Linked DNA regions of Homo sapiens: region 2 is linked to region 1. The links are contacts of gene promoters, found by promoter capture Hi-C in human tissues and cell types (Jung and others, 2019). All regions are on one chromosome and are shown on one strand. The core of a region is centred on a gene start or on the middle of the fragment in contact, and the rest is flanking DNA. Distances in the headings are between cores, read along the strand shown. Region 1 holds the start of ZNF394 (zinc finger protein 394). Region 2 holds the start of MOSPD3 (motile sperm domain containing 3).

Region 1 (4,795 bases), core at 848-3,347:
AAATAGGTAGAGCTCCATGCATCAACATGAGTAAATCTCAAAAATGTAATGTTGAGTAAAAAAAGCCATACAGTAATGATATACAGCGTGGAGCTACGTGTCTATGTAGAGACAATATAAGACATGCATGGAAGTCATGAACACAACAGTCAGCTTACTGGCTACCTCTGGAGAAGGATAGAGGGGAAGGGTTTCAGGGAGGCTATGTGGGGGCCTCACCTACAGCTGTAACATACTATTTCCTTGGCAATATGGCCAAGTATTAAGATCTGATAAACTTGGGTGGTAGACACAGGGGATGGTCATTATCTTTTTTTTATATAGTTTTCTGTATGTATAAAACATTAAAAATGAACCAAAGTAAAAAGCTGAATCTAGCACCTAGCAGTACAGAGGCTCCTGCTTGCGTTACAGAAGGCACCTGAAGGCTCTCAGCCCAAGTCTGGGAATGGCATAGTGGCTCAGGGATGGTAGTGAACCAGCCCTTCACAAACCACACACCGCAATAAACCAGCAGAGCAACAGCACTCACTCGGCGGAACTGTGCTCCCGGAATCCTTCTGCGCACTCTCTCTGCAGAAGTCCCTCCGTGCTGGGTCCAGGCGCTCCCACTCCTCCCAGGTTAGAGACACAGCCGTGTCCTCGAAAGTCACCATCCCCTGGAACAACACAAGAGCCCCATTCAGTACCTGCTGTCCCTGTACAGCACTAACACTCTTCTTGAGTCTTGTACCGACAAGGGAGTTTGGAGAGATCAGAGATAGAGGCTGACATTCTCTTGTAATCCTGAAAAGCCTTTCTGTGGACTATTTACACTAATTTTGGAGGTAGGTAGGAGCAAAATATTTCTTTAACTTATATCACTGTGATGTATGGGAATGGAAATATGATACAGATTAAAAGTAAACAAGGCCGGGCGCGGTGGCTCACGCCTGTAATCCCAGCATTTTGGGAGGCCGAGGCGGGCGGATCACCTGAGGTCAGGAGTTCGAGACCAGCCTGGCCAACACAGTGAAACCCCGTCTCTACTAAAAATACAAAAATTAGCCGGGCGTGGTGGCGGGCGCCTGTAATCCCAGCTACTCGGGAGACTGAGGCAGGAGAATCGCTTGAACCCGGGAGTCAGAGGTTGCAGCGAGCCGAGATCGCGCCATTGCACTCCAGCCTGGGCAACAAGAGTGAAACTCCATCTCAAACAACAGCAAGAACAACAAGAAAAAAAAAAAAAAGAAAAGAAAAAGAAAGAAAACCAGTAATCCGTGTTCGCTTTATGCTGAGGTCTATAACAAGTCATTTCCTGGATGGATCTGTCACTGTGGCCTACAGAAAGGAAGTCCATACACACCCCAATGTTCACACGAAATGTAATAAGGAAGTAAGTTCCGAAACGCAGAGCACCCCTAAACGCCTATTTTCCACACTCCCACCTCCAGAACAGGCCTTTCGCTTCTCACCTGGGATGAGGTTCCATCGAGCGCTCGCTGCAGAGCCCGCACCACGGCCACCGCCTCCTCCCCGCTCTCTGGGCAGTGCTCTCGCACCCAGGCTTGAAGCTCCTCGGGCAGGATGGTGAGGAACTGCTCCAGCACCAGCAGCTCCAGGATCTGCTCCTTGGAGAGCAGCTCGGGTCTCAGCCACCGACGACAGAGTTCTCGGAGCCGGCTCAGCGCCTCTTCCGGTCCAGCCACCTCCTGGTAACGCAGCTGCCTAAAGTGCAGTCGAGAAGTTTCGGGGTCCGGCGAAGCCGCGGGATAGTTGGGCTCCCAACTTCCGGGTGAGTCTTCCTCCACTTTCACGGGCAAAAGTCCGTCGCGTTGGGACGGCGCCGCGTCCTTGGACCTCGCAGCCATCACCCAGGGTCCCAACTCGGCGTCACTGCCGCGCCTCTGGGCGGTCAAGCTGGAATTCATCTTTCTCCGGCATGTGCTGCCCTTCCTGGAGTCTTCTTTTCAGGTGAAGAAAGAGCAAACCCAAGGAACTCATCAGCCGTCAACACCCTCCGGTCCCAAACACCGGGCCCCACCACACCAGGCCCCTCTCCACACTCTCCTTTCCTCAGCTTTGCGCCTACAACTCTCTCGGTCAAACAACCGAAAACATCCCGTGCCGGAAGCGCGTCATCGAGGCCTTGCGGCACCTTTCCCTGCATTTCCGGGGCCTCTCTAGGCGCCTGATGGGGTGAGGTGCATCTCGCTGGTTTATCGTCCTAGCCCCGCCCGACGCAGAGGGTCTTGACGGTTTCCCGCATCCCGAGGAAATACGGGCGTCCGAGCCGGTGGCCGAGCTCCGGCAAGGGCGGGAACCTTCAGGATTAAATAGACAGGGTCTGGCTCTGTCGCCCAGGCTGGACTGCAGTGGCGCGATTTCGGCTCACTGCAACTTCTGTCTCCCGGGTTCAAGCAATTCTCCAGCTTCAGCCTCCCAAGTATCTAGGACTACAGGTGCGCGCGACCACGCCCGGTTTATTAATTTTTCTGTGGGGATGGGGTTTCATTATATTGCCCAGGTTGGACAAAGTTGTTTTTTTTTCTTTTTTCAGGCGGACTCTCGCTCTGTCGCCAGGCTGTCTTAGCCTCCTGAGTAGCTTGGACTACAGGCGCGCGCCACCATGCCCGGCTACTTTCTGTATTTTAGTAGAGATGGGGTTTCACCATGTTGGTCAGGCTGGTCTGGAACTCCTGACCTCGTGATCCGCCTGCCCCGGCCTCCCAAAGTGCTGGATTACAGGCGTGAGCCGCTGCGCCCAGTTGGAAAAAGTTTTGTTTTTTTTTTAAAACTAAGTGCTTCCATGTACATCAGATGTTAACGACTTTGATCCTAACAAACAAACAAAAAAGATGAGGAAATTGAGGCTCAAAGATGTGTCCTGGCCTGGCTCAGTGGCGTATGCCTGTAATCCCAGCATTTTGGGAGGCTGAGGGGGGAAGATCGCTTGAAGCCAAGAATTGGAGACCCCAATGTCTACAAAAAATAAAAAATTAGCTGGGTGTGGTGGTGCACACCTGTAGTCCCAGTGAGAGGTGAAGCTAGTTGGACTTCCTGGGTCCAGTGGGGACTTGGACAACTTTTCTGTCTTACAAGAGGTTTGTAAAAATGCACCAATCAGCGCTCTGTAGCTAGCAAGAGGTTTGTAAAATGCACCAATCAGCGCTCTGTAAAATGGACCAATCAGCAGGATTCTAAAAGCAGCCAATCGCAGGGAGGATGGAAAAAAGGGCGTTCTGATACGACAGAAACGGACATGGGAGGGGACAAATAAGAGACTAAAAGCTCCCACCCCAGTCAGCGGAGGCAACCGGCTGGAGTGCTCTGCCATGCTGTGGAAGGTTTGTTCTTTCGCTCTTCACAATAAATCTTGCTGCTACTCACTCTTTGGGTCCGTGCCATCTTTAAGAGCTGTAACACAGTGAAGGTCGGAGGCTGCATTCTTGAAGTCAGCGAGAGGATGAACCCACTGGAAGGAACCAACTCAGGATACACCACTTACTTGGGAGGCTGAGGTGGGAGGATCCTTTGAGCCCAGGAGGTAAAGACTGCAGTGAGATATGATCGCACCAGTGCACTCCAGCCTGGGTGACAGAGCAAGACTCTGTCTCTAAAACAAAGTGTCTTGGTTGATGTCAAGCTGCTGGTGATTTGCAACTTGCATAAAATGAGACGATCGCTTGAGACCAGGAGTTCCAGGCCAGCCTGAGCAACATAGAGAGGATGTGTCTCCATATAAAAATAAAAAAATTTTTTTTTGAGAGGGAGTATCGCTCGGGTTCAAGCGATTCTCCTATCTCAGCCTCCCAAGTAGCTGGGATTACAGGCGCGTGCCACCACACCCAGCTAATTTTTTGTATTTTTAGTAGAGACGGGGTTTCACCATGTTAGCCAGGATGGTCTTGATTTCCTGACCTCGGCTCACTGCAACCTCTGCCTCCTGGGTTCAAGCAATCCCCCTCCCCACCCCACGCCCAAACAAACCGAACACTATTTATCAATCCAGGTGTGTTTAATAACTAGACATAAAAATATCTCTTATGGAGCCAGGTGCGGTGGCTCACGCCTGTAATCCCAGCACTTTGGGAGGCCGAGGCGAGGGGATCACCTGAGGTCGGGAGTTCAAGACCAGCCTGACCAACATGGAGAAACTTCGTCTCTACTAAAAAATACAAAATTAGCCGGGCATGGTGGCGCATGCCTGTAATCGCAGCTACTCGGGAGGCTGAGGCAGGAGAATCACTTGAACCCAGGAGGCAGAGGTTCACTAAGCCAAGATCGTGCCATTCACTCCAGCCTAGGCAACCAGCAAAACCATCTCAAAAAAAAAAAAAAAAAAAAAAAAAAAGGAAACTAGTCATCTTGGCTATCTCTAGAGAGAAAAATGAATGTAGAATGAGAATGAGAGGAAGACCTTAAGTGCCTTATTGAATTTTGACTCATGCAAATGTGTTATCTATTTAAGAAATAAATTATTGAAATGCAAAAGGTGTTTATAAATAATTCAAACCGGTTGCGGTGGCTCACGCCTGTAATCCCAGCACTTTGGGAGGCCGAAGCAGGCAGATCACGAGGTCAGGAGATGGAGACCATCCTGGGTAACACGGTGAAACCCCATCTCTACTAAAAATACAAAAAGTTATCCAGGTGTGGTGGCACACACCTGTAATCCCAGCTACTCAGGAGGCTGAGGCAGGAGAATCGCTTGAACCCGGGAGGCGGAGGTTGCAGTGAGCCGAGATCATGCCACGGCACTCCAGCCTGGGCGACAGAGTGAGATTCCGTCTCAAAAAAATAAATAGATAAACAA
Region 2 (4,795 bases), core at 1,852-4,351, 1.1 Mb after region 1:
CATGTTGGTCATGCTGCTCTCGAACTCCCAATCTCAGGTGATGCACACCCCTTGGCCTCCCAAAGTGCTGGGATTGCAGGCGTGAGCCACCATGCCCGGCCGATTATGTCACATCTTGTCCCTCCTTTACTCAAAACTTTCCTGTAGTTTCCTAAGTCTTACCAAGGGTTCAAGGCCCTATATCATCTGCATTCTCTCTCCTGCCTCGTAGCTTCATGTCTATTATCTCCTATGTATCATCTGTTCCAGTCACATTGGCAACTTCAGTTTGTTGCCCATTTCTTTTTTTTTTTTTTTTTTTTTGAGATGGAGTCTCGCTCTGTCACCCAGGCTGGAGCACAGTGGCATGATCTGGCTGGACTGCAGTGCAGTGGCGATATCTCGGCTCCCTGCAACCTCCGCCTCCCAGATTCAAGCGATTCTCCTGCCTCAGCCTCCCGAGTAGGTGGGACTACAGGCATGTGCCACCACGCCCGGCTAATTTTGTATTTTTAGTAGAGACGGGGTTTCACCATGTTGGTCAGGCTGGTCTCGAATTCCTGACCTTGTGATCTGCCCGCCTCGGCCTCCCAAAGTGCTGGAATTACAGGGGTGAACCACCGCACCCGGCCTTGTTGCCCATTTCTAGTACACTTCTGTTTTAGGCCTTTGCTATTTCCTCTATCCAGAATTCTCTCCCATAGACATATCTCATGGTTCACTTCCTAAATCCAGTCAGATCTCTGCTCAAAGTTCATCCTAGTCACTCATTCATTTGTTCATTCCAAATGGTAGGCACTGTCATAAGTCCTAAAGATACAACAGAAAACTAAACAAAGTCCCTGCTCTTGTGAAAAGGAAAAAACATTCTACTGGAGGAGAGAGAAACAATAAAATAGGAGGTCATGTATCACTATAAGTGCTATTAAAAAAACAAATACAGGGCAGGGAGCGGTGGCTCACGCCTGTAATCCCAGCACTTTGGGAGGCTGAGGCGGGCGGATCACAAGGTCAGGAGATCCAGACCATCCTGGCTAACATGGTGAAACATCATCTCTACTAAAAATACAAAAAATTAGCCGGGTTTGGTGGTGGGTGCCTGTAGTCCCAGCTACTCGGGAGGCTGAGGCAGGAGAATGGTGTGAACCCGGGAGGTGGAGCTTGCAGTGAGCTGAGATCGCGCCACTGCAGTCCGAGATTGCGCCACTGCAGTCTGGCCTGGGTGAAAGAGCGAGACTCCATCTCAAAAAATAAACCAAACCAAACAAAACAAAAAAAACAAATACAATTAGCCGGGTGTGAAGTCGCGCGCCTGTAGTCCCAGCTACTCAGAAGGCTGAGGTGGGAGGATTGGTTGAGCGCAACCAAGCAGGTGGAGACTGCAGTGAGCTATGATTGTACCACTGCCCTCCAGCCTGTGTGACAGCACAAGACTGTCTCAAAAAAAAAAAAAAAAAAAAAGAAAAAGAAAAAGAAAATGTAAAAGAGAACACGGGGATTCTACACAAGATGTTCAGAGGAGACTTTCAGATAAGATCAACTTTGTCTTTGCTCCATTGCTAACTGGGTGCCCTCAGAGACCCAGATTCTTCACCTTATCCAGGCTGTAAAAGGAGTTGAAGATTCGATGCAATTAAAGTGGCAGGGTTTAGCAAATCCTTTTTTAAAATATATAATTACTCAAACAACATGGGTTTGAAATCAGCAAATCTTAATTCCCTGTGCAAATGTGAGTGATTTCCCACGTCCCTCACAGGAAGGTGAGAAACAGGAGGCAAGACTTAGTCTGGAGTCCCAGATGGGAGGAACCTCCAACCCATAGAAAACAGACTTTGAGCCTGGGGAAGGAACAGTGGCTCTCATGCACTTTGGGAGGCTTAAGTGGGAGGATCGCTTGGGCCCAGGAGTTCGAGAACAGCCTGCAGAACATAGCGAGATCGTCTCTACAAAAAATTACAAAAAGCCAGGCATGGTGATGCACGCCTGTAATCCCAGCTACTCGGGAGGCTGAGGCAGGAGAATCGCTTGAACCCAGGAGTTGGAGGCTGCAGTGAGCAATGATAGCGCCACTGCACTCCAGCCTGGGCGACAGAGTGAGACTCTGTCTCTAAAAAAGCAAAAAAGAGGGCGGGCACGGTGGCTCACGCCTGTAATTACAGGACTTTGGGAGGCTGAGGCAAGTGGATCGCCTGAGGTCAGGAGTTCGAGACCAGCCTGACCAACATGGTGAAACCCCGTCTCTACTAAAAATACAAAGAATTACCCGGGCGTGATGGCGCACGCCTATAATCCCAGCTACTCGGGAGGCTGAGACAGGAGAATCGCTTGAACCCTGGAGGCGGTGGTTGCAGTGAGCCGAGATCGTGCCATTGCACTCCAGCCTGGGTGACAGAGCGAGACTTCGTCTCAAAAAAAAAAAAAAAAAAGCAAAGAAAACAGGCTTGGTTCCTGCAGAGGCTTCTAGAGCCTGGAATGAAGAGGAGGAAAAGGGCTTCCCGGTGGGAGATTGACTTGGACCATCTCAAGAATAGGGAGGAAAGAACAAAGCCCAGTTCGAAACCCCGCCCCCGGTTCTCTGAGTTACTTCAGGGCTCGAGTTCGAGCCAGTACAACTGTTACGTCACCGGAATCCAGCCAATCGCAGACGACAGAAGGAGGGCGTTGTTTGGTCTTTCAGCACACCAATCGGCGTATAGTTACGGCAGAAACAAAGACGTCCTAGCCAATGACAGAGGCCGTACGGCGGAAGTATAGAAAAGGACTCTCTGGAACATGGCAACATTAATCTGACCACAAGCTGACTGGCAGGTGCTTTAACCACAAGGTGGGCATCCTAACGCGAGCGACCGTTTTGAGGCAGAAGCCCGATGGGGCCCGTGTCCGAGCTTAGGGAGGGGCCGGAGACGCAAACACAGGTCTCCCAGGAAGCAGGCGGCGTCACAGGTCGCTCTGCAGGCGCCCGCTGCAGCGGGCGGAGTCTGGCTGGAGAGAGGAGGCGGGCGTCCGGGAACGCCCGGAAGGGGCGAGGCCAGCGGCGGGGCGGGGCTTATGGAGATCGTGAGCTGGGCGTGAGGAGAAGGCCGGGTTGGGAGCTGCGAGGGGCCGGGTTTAGCGGGGTGGGCGTGGCCGTCGAGGTGGGGCTCGGCGGGTCCGAAGGAACCTGGGGCAGAGCTGGAAGAGGAAAGGTCTTGGGGGCCCTGGGCCTGGGTCTGCGGGAGCCCCATCTAGCGGGGTTCCAAGGCGGCGGCGGCATCAGTCGAGGCCCTGCTCCGGGAGCTCATCTTGTCCCCTTTCGCCCCTCACGCCCCCCAGCTCTGACTCCAGGCCCTGTCCCCTGAGCTCTGCCCTCGGATGTCCGACCGCCCAGAGCCTGCATGCGCCGTGGGGCGCCCCAGGACCAGGAGCTGGTGGGTCCGGGGCCCCCTGGGCGGGGGTCCCGGGGCGCCCCTCCTCCCTTGGGACCCGTTGTCCCGGTCCTGGTCTTTCCCCCGGATCTAGTATTCAGGGCGGACCAGCGGAGCGGACCCCGACAGCTGCTGACCCTCTATAACCCCACAGGAACTGCGCTTCGCTTCCGAGGTAAAGGGATCGGCGCCTCGTGGGGGCTGGTGGCCGGACACTGGGGGGTTGTGTTGGCTGGAGGAGTCAGATGGGTAGGGTTGCACGTCCAGCTTTGGTGGACTGGGAAAGTCATGTCCAGCCTCCGGGGCAGAAGGCAGAGGGGACTTAAATGACCCACATGGCAGGGCTTGTCTGTGTGTGTCTCTATCCCCCAGTCCTGTGCACAGCACCTGCCAAATACACGGTGTTTGACGCAGAGGGATATGTGAAGCCCCAGTCTTGCATTGACATGTGAGTGAGCTGGGAGGGTGGGGAGGCTTGTGGAAGCCAGGGGTCGCTGCCACCTGTTGTCTGAGGTCTGAGACCTTGCCCCCTTTAACCTATTTGCCCTATCCTCTGCCTGTGCCCCTAAGGGAGAGACTTCTGGGGGGAGGCCCAGATTTCCTTGGATTACTGCCTCATTCACCCCAATGGGCTTCTCTCCTACCTTGGGACCAGTGTGATTCGCCATGTGGCACCCATTCCCAGCCACTATGATGTCCAGGACCGCTTCCGCATTGAGCTGTCTGAGGAAGGAGCTGAGGGCCGAGTGGTGGGACGCAAGGACATTACCTCCATTCTGAGAGCCCCAGCGTACCCCCTTGAGCTTCAGGGACAGCCAGATCCAGCGCCTCGCCCAGGGCCTCCTGCTGGGACACCACCACCCACGGCCAGACACTTCCAGGAGCGTGAGTTGGGAGACTGGGATCTTGAGTTCTGTAGGGAGGGAGGAACTAGCATTTCCCTAGAGATGAGATAAATTGGATTTGAAGAAGTCTCCTGGTTCAGTCTTTTGTCTTTTGGTGGAAACATTCCTCCGAGTTGAGATTTTATATCAGGTGAGGGGGAAAAGACTTACAGCTTCCCTGGTTTCTGACTTCTACTTAGAGGAAAAAGTTCTTCCTTGACTGTAACCGCAGTACTTCCTATCATGTGGTAGCTCAGTTCAGTTCAATAAGAAACCTGTATTGAGCAATTAACCCTGTACCAAGTTGTGTGCTGGGTATGAGATCAAGAGAGGTCCCTGCCTGTCGGATAGGTCCACAGAAGAGAGAAAATGAATGCTGAGGGACTGGAGGAGAGAGTTCTTGTGGTGGTGGGGACAGAGGCTGTAGGAAGGAGAGGACACTTGCAGTGTACCCCTGGAGGGCAGTAAAAAGTAGATACAGGGTGTGATGGCTCACGCCTATAATCCCAGTGCTTTGGGAGGCTGAGG

The links. Contacts are between HindIII fragments. The study calls those that stand out against the background at their distance.
Region 2: the fragment with the promoter of MOSPD3 here is called in contact with the fragment with the promoter of ZNF394 in region 1 in 1 of the 25 tissues and cell types used here (aorta).

What each region holds. Positions count from the first base shown.
Region 1 is chr7:99,498,184-99,502,978 of GRCh38, forward strand. ZNF394 (zinc finger protein 394) reads right to left here and starts at 2,098. Exons shown (of 3, transcript NM_032164.4): 1 at 1,455-2,098; 2 at 533-659. The coding sequence starts at 1,910. RefSeq lists enhancers at 538-1,206, 1,429-1,708. The HindIII fragment of the contact is 27,367 bases long and covers 1-4,795 here.
Region 2 is chr7:100,609,439-100,614,233 of GRCh38, forward strand. It overlaps MOSPD3 (motile sperm domain containing 3), which reads left to right and starts at 3,102. Exons shown (of 5, transcript NM_023948.5): 1 at 3,102-3,558; 2 at 3,756-3,831; 3 at 4,039-4,268. The coding sequence starts at 3,354. RefSeq lists an enhancer at 2,695-2,964 and a silencer at 3,085-3,144. The HindIII fragment of the contact is 8,229 bases long and covers 1-4,795 here.